Linked DNA regions of Homo sapiens: region 1 is linked to region 2. Evidence: promoter capture Hi-C in human tissues and cell types (Jung and others, 2019). All regions are on one chromosome and are shown on one strand. Each heading gives the region's core, a stretch centred on a gene start or on the middle of the fragment in contact. The rest is flanking DNA. Distances are from core to core; before and after follow the strand shown.

Region 1 (5,947 bases), core at 2,065-4,564, 160 kb after region 2:
ATTTACCCTAATACCTACTGTCCTTAAAACTAGCTGATGTTGGTTTCTCTAAAACCATAAAATTAACTGAGGAAACTGAATAGGACTTTATACTCTACTTTTCTATCAATATTACTGAGGTCTGCTAATAAAATACATATATTACTTGAGAAAAAAACTACAAATATCAGATATGTGCCATAAACAAAAGCTATGTACTTCTGAATGAAAAAACCAGAGTTCTTATGTGTCCTGAATTTCACAATTGTGTGATTAGAGGGTGAGAATCCTAGCTCTACCCCTAAGTAGCCATGTGACCTTAGCCAACTTAGATAAGCTTTATTTTTCTTCAGTTTTTTCAAGTAAAGACCCACTATAGTTAATGTATAGACCCCCTCAGTTTCCTCACCTGTAAAATAAAGACGATAACATATAGCCCCAACTTGCAATGTTTCAACGTACGTTTCTTTTACTTTACGATCCATTTAATCAGATATTAAATGCATTTTTTACTTATGATATTTTCAATTTACAATGAGTTTAGCAAGACATAACCCCATTATAAGTCAAGGATCATCTGTGTGTGTGTGAGTGTGTGTGTGTATGAACTAATATAGTCCTACTACAAAGTAGATACTATAAATGTAGCTGTCTTTATTTATACTGAAAAATAGTTTTCCTTTTAGTAACAGTTATTAAAGATACATATCAATATACTTTATACAATTACTGATATTAATATTAAATTAAGAGAAATAAAATAAAGCAAAATTATTGACCTCTGTTTTTTAATCCCTTCTAAATTCTAAAAACAGCTACATCAGATCATATTTTGTGGGAGAATGCTAACAACATTGCAAATTTCCTAATGAAATAAGAAAGATTACTAGACTGGGCACAGTGGCTCACACCTGTAATCCCAACACTTTGGAAGGCCAAGGCGGGTGGATCATTTGAGGTCAGGAGTTCAAGACCAGCCTGGCCAACATAGTGAAACCCCATCTCTACTAAAAATACAAAAATTAGCCGGGTGGTAGTGGCGCACACCTGTAATCTCAGCTACTCGGGAGGCTGAGACAAGAGAATTGCTTGAGCCTGGGAGGCAGAGGTTGCAGTGAACCAGGATAGGCCACTGCACTCCAGTCTGAGCGACAGAGTGAGACCCCGTGGCAAAAGAAAAAAAGAAAGATTACGAAATTAGTTACATTTCATGATTCACTGCCATGTGATCACTAATGTTATTTTAAAGAAAAAAACAAAGATCACATCTTAGTGTTGAAAAGCAAGACAAACTCAGACTACTTAGTATACTGAGTATACAATTCTCCTAAACCAGAACATACATATAGACAGACACATGTCAAACTCTAATTATATTTCTTACTTTACTCTTCACAGCATCATATCGGATTTGAGAAAACTCACGAAGACCAAAAGAACCTCCAACAATCAGCAACTAAAACAAAGAAAGGAAACATTTAAGCAAAACAGAAGACCAGAATTCAAATTCAGCCTATCTATAGATTGCTTTTCTAAACAACAATAGAGGCACATTATACAAAAATTCTATAGATTATTTTTCCTGGTGAGTCACCATTCATCTTTTAGAGTAAATGCAGTATATACTGGCTAGGAAATCATTATAGCACATCATTACCAAATACCAAAATCGTCACCCTATACCTGTATTTGACCTTATGATTTAAATGACATCATAACAAGCATTGTATTATCTGACTCTTACAATAGACCTATTTTTGTTTTTTGCTAAGAAAAAAACAAAAACAAAAACAAATTCAACAAATGAGGAAATAAAAGCACAGCCAGCTAAATGACTTGTCCATTGTTAACTTAAATTTTGCCCAGGGATGTCTCTGTAATTCCATTGCTATGCGATCTTCCTTAGTAAGTAATGAAATTGAAACCTGATCAACTGATCAGACCATGTCCAAATAAGGCAGATGCCTAGCTATAACCAACCAAGCTATTTCTGTACTTCACTTTCCTGTTTTGTCTATACTCATTGCCCATATTGCAGAATGGAGCTCTCTCAACTTCTGGTTCTGAGTGCTGCCTGATTCATGAATTTTCTTTGTTCAAATAAACTCTATAACATTATTGTTTTTTTGTTTAAGGTTTTCCTTCTTTTCGTACTATGATTACACAAGGTAAACCCAGCAGTAAAACTTGCCATTTTTTCCTTCAAGACCAGAATTCTTTTGATTTTATGATTTTTCAAAATAAGGCAATTGGAGTTCTCATTACCTTACCAAGTGATAAAGAAATCTCATGAAAACTTGCTGCAGAATATTCTGTATATCACATTGTATTCCCAGGGACAATATGGCTATACAGGTCACAGGTAAAGAAAGTCTTCAAATTCTTACTATATAGTGAAATTCTGAAACATCATCTTAAGATATACAGAATCACTTTCATGTTTTTGCTGGCACCTATTTGAGGCACAGTATTTTCAAAAGATTTAAACTTCATAATAAAGAATTGTAACCACCGAATGGGTTCACCTTGCGTGCTACCTAGACAGAGCTGATTTATCAAGACAGGGGAATTACAATGGGGAATAACAATGGGGAATTGCAGAGCCAGCTGTGTGGAAACCGGAGTTTTATTATTACTCAAATCAGTCTCCCCGAGCATTCAGGGATCAGAGTTTTTAGATAATTTGGTGGGTAGGGGCTTGGGAAGTGGGGAGTGTGCTGATTGGTCAGTTTGGAGTTGGACTCATAGGGGGCAAAGTGAGCTTTCCTTGCTGTTTTCTGTCACTGGGTGGGATGGCAGAACTGGTTGAGCCCAATTACCCGTCTGGGTAATGTCAGCTGATCCATCCAGTGCAGGGTCTGCAAAATATCTCAAGAACTGATGTTAGGTTTTACAATAGCGATGTTATCCCCAGGAGCAATTTGGGAGGTTCAGGCTCTTGGAGCCAGAGGCTGCATGACCCATAAACTGTAATTTCTAATCTTGTAGCTAATTTGTTGGTCCTGCAAAGGCAGACTGGTCCCCAGGCAAGAAGGGAGTCTTTTTGGGAAAGGGCTATTATCAATTTTGTTTCAGAGTCAAACCATGAACTGAATTCCTTCCCATAGTTCGGCCTATGCCCAGGAATGAACAAGGGCAGCTTACAGGTTAGAAGCAAGATGGAGTCAGTTAGGTCTGATTTCTTTCATTGTCATAATTTCCTCAGTTATAATTTTGCAAAGGCGGTTTCAGTATTGCTACAAAAGTTAATGACCACAAGGAGAAACTCACTCACCATTACTTATTGTGTGTCGCTCTTATAAAACAAGCTTAGAATGGACTTTGGATTTCAGAAGACACCTGTAGATTTCCCTGACATCTCAGAGCAGGGATGAATAGTGTAAGATTCTCCCTGGGACCTGAAAGCTTAAGGAGATGAACAACTCATCCCTTCTCAGGCCCAGTCCCAAGGCACAAGGCTACTTGTACCAGCAGTGTGCACCAGCAAGATAGCAGAAGCAGGAAGAGAGCCGGCCGGAAAATACGTACCCCTGAAGATTGAGAAAGAGGCCATCCAGGTACAACAGAGCAATTATGTCAGACTAGGACACTTCCTGTTTACAGGAGACTATAAAACCTTTGTCCCATCCTCACTTGGGGCTGATGCCATTTTAGGCCTCAGCCCACCTGCACCCACGCGCTCATCAAAACAGCATGTTGCTCCTCACCACCTCATGTTGTCTGTTGGTGCGCTCTCAGGGTTCCAACCGATACAAGAACCGTACATCTGGTGCTGAAACCCGGGAGAGGTTCTGGTCCACGTCCCCTGTGAACCTACCCCTCCACCCCAGACAGCAGGCCACAGCAGCCAGACAAAGGAAGCTCCTCGATCTCCAGTTGCCTCTCTGTGCATGCACATTGGTCACTGATCTTGCTTACTGGTAAGTTTCCTCAGGGGCCCAGTTAGCAGGGAAAATTCACACGGCCTCTCTTAGTTTCTCTGGTCCGAATATCCAGTGTTGGTCCAAGAAGGCGCCGGCGTGTGCCAGGCACTCGCTGATCATCTGGTCTTAGGGGGATGCCTCTAAGCCATTTGATCGTGTTCCAGGAACGAAAAAGGCAGCGGTGACAGTTGCTCCTTTTATCATCTCCCTCCAGGATGGTCTCCTTTTTCCCTGTTCTCCTGAGCCTACCCTCTGTTATGGGAAACTCCGGTCCTCCATTCCAAACAACAGCCCTCTAGGCTGCTTCATAAAAAACCTGCAAACCTTAGGCCTCAGGCAAGATATTCGCTCTAAGTACCTGTCTTTTTTGCAATACAGCCTGGCCACAGTACAAATTAAATAATGGGTCCAAATGGCCTGCAAATAGAACATTCAACTTTACAATTTTAACTGACTTAAGCAATTATTGCCGACGACTGGAAAAATGGGAAGAAATTCCTTATGTCCAGGCCTTTTTGCACTCAGTTCACAACCCAACCTCTGCAATTCTTGCTTACCTGTTCAAATCCTTCCCCTCCATTCTCACCGCCCTGATCGCCTTTCTCCTCCCGACCCTACCTCATTTTTCTCGTTCGATCCAACTGACTGCTATCCACCCCTCCCAACCCCTACCTTTTCCTCTCAACCATCTTTTTTAACCCCCCAAGCCTCCTCGTTGTCTTCTCAGCTGCCATCTTCCCAGCTGCCATCTTCCCAGTCAGCTGTATCCACTTCTTTTCCTACACCATCCCCTCCTCGGGACAATTCTAGTATTGCCTGTACCCATTCTCCTCCCCCACTGCCCTCTCCTAAAGCTTGTAAACTCATCCCGCCACCTTACGCCCCTGCCTATCCTCCACTGCCTGTTAACCCTCCTTCCCCCTTCAAACCCTCAGAACGAACCATTATCTTAAACCTTCGGTTCATCTCCCAATCCACCCCCGATATTCGGTGCAAGCTTCAGAAGCTTGATGATGGCCCTCAAACCTCACAAGACCGTCTTAATTTAGCCTTCATAGTCTTTAACAATCGTGATAGGGAAAGTAAAAGGCAAAAACAGGCGGAGTTTCAAATGCTTGCCTCCGCCATCAGGGGCCCTGCAGGCCCACGGGTCCGCAGCTCCACACGGAAGCCTCCTAGCAACCTACCTCCACTTGGCACCTTTTCAAGTGCGGCAATGAAGGCCACTGGTCCAGACAATGCCCAAATCCAGGTAAGCCCACCAGGCCATGCCCCCTCTGCAGAGGACCCCAATGGAAATTGGACTGTGAGCGGCCCCTGCAAGGGCGGCCCCATCACTTCCTAAGCCGGCCAAAACCTCCTACTTGGATCTCATTGGCCTTGCCGCTGAAGATTGATGGTGCCCTGGAATGGATGCCCCGGCAACTACCATCGCTTCATCCGAGCCAAGGGTAACCCTGATGGTGGCAGGTAGGCCAGTATTTTTTTTTTAATTAATACCGGGCAAACTACTCTGCTTTACCTAATTTTTCAGGACACACCCAGTCCTCCCTTTTCTCCGTTGTGGGAATTGACAGACAAGACTCCAAACCCTGAGCCACCCCTCCACTTTTCTGCTCCCTGCACACCTTTTCCTTCAGTCACCCTTTCTTAGTCCTGCCCTCATACCAGAGACATCCTTTCAAAACTCCACACTACTCTCCACTTGCACATTCCCCATAGTACCCAACGCATCAACCCAGACCCCTCGGGGCATCTAACTTTCTTCTACTCCTCCAACCTGCCACCTTAAAACATGCAACTTTACCTTATCCCCCATCCGTAGTTAACCCCGCTGTTTAGAATATTTCCACACCTTCAGTCGCAAAACACCACACCCCCGTCCGCATTACCCTTAAAGAGTCCACCCAGTTCCTATCACAGAAGCAGTATCCCATCCCCCAAGCAGCTCTCATAGGCCTAAAGCCTATCATTTCTCGCCGCCTCACCAGTCACCTACTCCACCCAAGAAACTCTCCTTTTAACACACCAGTTCTACCTGTTTA
Region 2 (5,628 bases), core at 116-2,615:
ATCAGGGCTTTGACTGTGTGTGTGTGTGTGTGTGTGTGTGTGTGTGTGTGTGTGTCCGCGCGCGCGTGTGTGTTGGGGGATCGGGGGAGGGTTAGTTATATATTTCGATTCTCTCCACCGAGTCCCGGATCACGCAGACCACCAGGGGCTGGAGAGTGCAGCACTGGAGAAACCCTCCTTCTCCCTCGCCCCCTTGGCCCCAGCGGTGGGTGCTCTGGGGCTGCAGCTCCCGACCCGCGGCGGTGGAGTCCCGAGATTGGGGTGAGCGCGTGCGTGCGTATGTGCACGCGGGCGCGCGCCGAGTGGATAACGCGCTTCCCTGCTAGCCCCCAAACCCGGCGGACACTCACAGCACCAGAAGCACAACACGCCCTGGCCCAGGTGGCACACATATGCCGACATGCATCCAGCACACACAACACAGCAGTCAGTCTCCCCAAACAGCACCCGCTACCAACCCAGCATGCTCACGATCCAACTGTACCCACCTGCCCAGGCATCTCTCTCTGCCCCTCCCCACCCGGCGGCACCCTCCTGTAGACACCCACTCTGCCAGATCTGCCCCCCCAACACTGCATACACAATGTACACTTTCCGGGGCACCCTCACCCCACTTCTCCTGGCACTAAATCCACAGGAAGGCGGTTCATATGAATGATCTTGAGAAATAACTTAACCCCGTTACTCACAATCAGGGATCCTCTTAGGGGCATCCCAAGCCCCCCAACCTCTACCTCCCATGTCTCGGCTGCCCGCTAAGGGGGAAGGGCAGGAGGCTCACCCCATTACTCACCGTTTCCTCTCGGCCTCCCGAGCGGAGTGGGCAAGGGAGGGGGGTGAGGAAGGTACGCGATGCCCCCGCCGCCCGGCGCCTCACCGGTCGCAGCGGCTCATCGCCCCCGCGGGCTGCCCGCCGGCCGCAGCCGCGTCCGGGGCATGTCAGTCCGCCGCCGCCGCCCTCCCGCCGGGGTTCGTGGGCTCGCAGCTGTCAGGGAGCTGCGGGGCAGCGCATCTGGAGCGCGGGGTCTGGGAGGGAGGGTGTCTGGGGCCAGGGCGAGGGGCCCCGGGAGGGGTCCTTCCGCACGGATTTCAGAAAGAGGGAAACCCCGACCCAGAGCGGTGACTGGAATCTACGCCCGGGAGAGGCCCGGAGTCCCGGCCGCGGGCGGCGGGGGATTCCTGCAGGAAGGGGCAGGAAGGCAAGCAGCCCGGCGCGCCCTGGCGGCTCCGAGGGACCTGGGCTCGGGCTTGCGGTCGCGTCGCCTGGGCTTTCCCTGGGCTGGGAGCGCGCCGGGTCTCCGCCTTGCACGCTGTCACCGCGGGAGACGTCTCGGCCTCGCCGCGCGCAGAGGGGACGCGCGGAGAGGCTGGTTTCTGGGCGAGCGGAGAGCTTTGCCCATTAAGCTGCCGGAAGAAGCCAAATCAAAAAGCCAATCTCCAAGCCTCCAAACGGAACGTCACCCTATCAGCTGGGAGACAGCGCCGCACTGACTGACAAGCCGCGCATATTTATCCTCGCGCGCGGAGGGGAGACTCTCAGAACGCTCCTCGACCAGCAGCGAGGAAGTCGAGCCCGCATCCCGCATCCCGCATCCCGCATCCAGAGCCCCCGAGGGACGAATTCAGATCCAACCCCTGCCCCGCGGCCACCCACCCTAGTCGTTGGAGCCTGGCGCCCGCGCCTCCCGGCCGGCAGCACGTCAAAACGGCGGCGCGTCCTGACCTGGATTCCGCCGAGTTGGGAGCTCCAGGCAGCAGGCGGGCGCGCGGCACCGGCTTTCCCCTTGTCCTCAGGAGACGCTGCCTGCAATTCCGAAATTAAGTCTCCACCAAACACATCTGTGGTTTTTAAATATAGCAGGGAACTATTACCCAGGCAGGGTCCACCCAGGCCTAGGGGAGGAGTTGAGGGGGATGGAGATTGGCAGCGGAGGGAAAAGAAAACTCCTTTTTTCCCCCTCTTTTTTTCTTCTCTTCTTGGTGCAGAACCCAGCCTGTCATTTTCTCAACCCAAGTCAAACAACAGTTTGTGAGAGACGCTTGGGTGAGCTCTGGTATGTTGGCTTTTCGGGTTTCTAAAGCTAAAAATAAGAGGGGGCTGCCTCCCAAATTGCTGCTTACTCTGGGCCTGGAGGCTGGAAGAGAGCTGGTCCTTTGATGCAGCAGCGGGACTAGGGCTTGGGGCTTGGCTCAGGCGAAGTGTACACACGTAGCCTTAAATCAGATGCCTGTAATTTCTGCTATATTTGTCAGGCTTGGTCCTAGAGGCATGCGGGGTGGGCAAGCCACTCCTAAGAATGGGGTTTCAAGCCCTCAGCTTATCGGTGGCATTAGGCAGATCTAAAATGAGCCTGGTGGCTGGCCTTCTGTAGCGACACCAGTGCAGAAAAGTCAGAATGTAAGGGCAGGAAGTTGTTCTCTTTCAGGCCTCTCTGCTGCCTGAGGCTAAGTGTGAGGGGCCAACAAATGATAATAATACTTACCAAATAGCAGCACCTTTTAAGGGCCAGGAGTGGTGCTAGTGAATTTGATTGTATTACCTCATGCCATCCTACTAAAACTCTGTGAGCTAGGTACAATTACCAACTCCATTTTTTTGTTGAGGAAATTGAGCCTTAGGTTAAATAACCATCCCAAGGCCACGTGCAGCAGAGCCAAGGATTGAAATAAAATGCAACCAACCGGAGTTGTGCTGAGACGTCAACAGTGTGTGTGACTCCTGAGATCCCTGGCTCCTTTGCCCGGCTGCTCTGGAGCAAGGCTTGGTTCAAACAGATTAAGGGGGTGTAGAGACTAGGGAATCTCTAAGCCTGAGATGGCAGGAGGTCTTTGCTGGTCCTTTGACTCAGTGTTCCGTTAGCAAGCTGTGTGGTGGTTTCTGGCCTGAGTCCGGAGTCAGAATCCTGGATGTGCTCAGTAGGAGCAGTAGGAGTGCTTTCAGACCCCTGAACCTTTATGGGTCTTGAATTTCATTTAAAGTTAGGGCTGGGACTGACTTTGAAAGGTTTCAATAGCTTCTAAAGTTGTGGGATCTCAGGATATGTCAGTTACTGGGACTTACCTTGTGTCTGCTCCCGTGGAGAGTCACAATGCTGAGTCTACACATTGAGAGTCTACAGTAGAGACAAAGAGATGGCTAATGGGCACCTAAATTGATAGAGTTTTTAGGTAGGGCAATTTTGAAAGATACATCAAATTCCTTAAAAACGTGAATGCCTGTGACCCAGTAATTTTACTGGAAGAAATTTATTCTATGGCAATCATTAAGGATATGCTCAAATATTTAGTTACAAGGATATTCATGGTAGTGTTTTTAAGAGTGAAAAATTGGAAACATCTTAATTTTCCAACACAACAAATTGGTGAAGTAAACATGTTTTGTTGACATAATGCTGTATTCTACCACTGTAAAAATACAGATGCAGCATTCTGTGTACTGGTGTGGAAAGGTTTTTATAATATATCGTAGACAGAGAGAAAAAAAACCCCAGAACACAGTGTAACACAGCATGTGCGGGGGTGGCGGGGTGGGGATGAATGCCCTGGCAGCATAAAAACCCCAAAATGGTAGTGGTTATCTCTTGGTGGTGGGATTTCTGGTGATTTTGTTTCTCTTTGTATCAATCAACTTTATTGAGGTGTAATTTACATACAACAACTCACCTTTTTTCTGATCTATGCTTTATGAAGGCATCAAAAGCAAGGTCTAGTGCACAGGCTAAATGACTATCTCAGTAGTGAGGAACATGAATCTGCAAAACTATCCCAGTAGTGAGGAACATGAATAATATTTCAAGATACCTGCAAAAACTAACTGATGATATTAAAATATCTGACATTTCTAATGGAGATAAAGTTACAGGTATCCAAACATCACTACTACTACTAAAAACTCACCTGTTTTAAGTGTATAGTTTGAAGAGTTTTTATACAAGTACATACATGTAGAGCAACAACCTCAGTCAAGACATAGAACATTTTCATCTCCCCCAGAAGTCCTCTCAGGCCCCTTTATACTCATCCGCTCTTCCCACAGGCAACTATTGATCTGCTTTCTGTCACTGTGGCTTAGTTTTGCTTGTGCCAGAATTTTATTTGTTTGCTTGTTAATATCTATTGATATATTTTCAGTGAACATTACCTATTCACTAAAACTGAACCAGCAACAACAACAGAATTGGTCATGTCATTTTTTTAGAACTACCAAACAAAACAGACAGGAACCTTGTCTTCCTCTTGTCACCTGTGACAGGGCAATGCTGCGGGGAGGAAGGCAAGAGGTGCCAAAGCATGTTCAACCAACGCTGTCGGCAGAGCTGACTTGCGTAGGTTCCTCTGAGTTCTAGGTAGACTGAAATAGCAAAGCCCAGCTCTGCATTCTGAGCCTCAGTGTCCTCACCAGTAAAATGGGAATAATAATAATTATTATTATTAATAATAATAATAATTATTATTATTATTATTAATTATTATTATTAATAATAATAATACCCACCTCGTGAGGTTGTTGTGAAGCTTCAGTGAGATTACAGTTTCTGGTACAGACCAATCCCCAAATATATATCAATTCTCCTTCTCCCCTACTTTTGTTCTCCCCCAACCCTGCTTCTCTCCCATCTTAAGTTCTACAGCCAACCTTCACGTGGCCTATGAAGTCTCAGACTGCTTTCAACTCTGGACATTCTCACTTCTTTTTTTCTCCCCACTACATGCATACAGGGTTGGAAAACATTAAATGTAATGACACCGTACTTGCATTTCTGCCATTGTTACTTATATCTAGCTGTACTGGAACCCAAGGAGATGTTCACAAGGAAGATGGAAAGTAAGCTGTGTAACATCAGCATTGGGAGCAAGAGCCACAAACCTCATTTTCAAGTTGGGAAGAAACTCAGGACCCGAGAAGCTACAGGATTCAGCCCAGTCACAGAGCTTGGTAAGAACTAGACAGACTCTTTTATGGACTGAATTGTGTGTCCCAAAACTTGTGTGTTGAAGCCCTAGCCCTTAGTACCCAGAATGTGCCTGGGTTTTGAGACAGGGTCTTTAAAAAGGTAATAAAATTAAAACAGTGCCGTCAGTGTGGGCCCTAATCCACTATGACTGCTATCCTTATAAGAAGAGGAGATTAGGACACAGACAGACAGAGGGACAACCTTGTGAGGACACAGCGAGAAGGCAAGCCAAGGAGAGAGAAATCAAATGTGCTGACACCTTGATGTGGGAGTTCTAGGCTCCAGAACTATGAGAAAATAATTTCTGTTAGTTAAGCCACTCAGTCTTTGGTATTTTGTCATAGTAGCCCTAATTCTGTGAGTCCTTGTCATAGAATACCCTTTCTCTAGAGGCTGAGCAGCAAGTAATAGGGCAGATGGGATGAATAGTGGGAAGGGACCACATGGCTTCTTGGTGGGGCCCCAGTATTTGCCATTATGCTGCAGAACTCCACAAGTCAGTGCCTCTCCAAAAGCGGGGCCTCAGGCACTTCATAAGCAGACGACCTGCCAGTCCTGGCCACCAGTGGCACTGCATCCCACACAAGCCACAGTGTCTCTTCTCACAAGCAACCTAGGTGCCAGCATTCCACAGCCCTTGGACTATACAATCTGATAGCAGTTGAGAAACAAC

The links. The method cuts DNA at HindIII sites, captures the fragments that hold promoters and counts their contacts. A contact is called where the count stands out against the background at its distance.
Region 1: a contact is called between a fragment that was not itself captured here and the fragment with the promoter of SLC8A3 in region 2, in 1 of the 25 tissues and cell types used here (pancreas).

The regions. Positions count from the first base shown.
Region 1 is chr14:70,341,295-70,347,241 of GRCh38, forward strand. The region is part of intron 3 of SYNJ2BP-COX16 (SYNJ2BP-COX16 readthrough); the gene reads right to left. It overlaps COX16 (cytochrome c oxidase assembly factor COX16), which reads right to left. Exons shown (of 4, transcript NM_016468.7): 2 at 1,364-1,435. LOC124903340 (a long non-coding RNA gene) reads left to right here and starts at 3,841. Exons shown (of 2, transcript XR_007064238.1): 1 at 3,841-3,899; 2 at 5,034-5,947. The HindIII fragment of the contact is 3,026 bases long and covers 1,802-4,827 here.
Region 2 is chr14:70,187,586-70,193,213 of GRCh38, forward strand. SLC8A3 (solute carrier family 8 member A3) reads right to left here and starts at 1,366. Exons shown (of 7, transcript NM_182932.3): 1 at 794-1,366. It also overlaps the pseudogene LOC646548. RefSeq lists silencers at 801-940, 1,011-1,340. The HindIII fragment of the contact is 13,926 bases long and covers 1-5,628 here.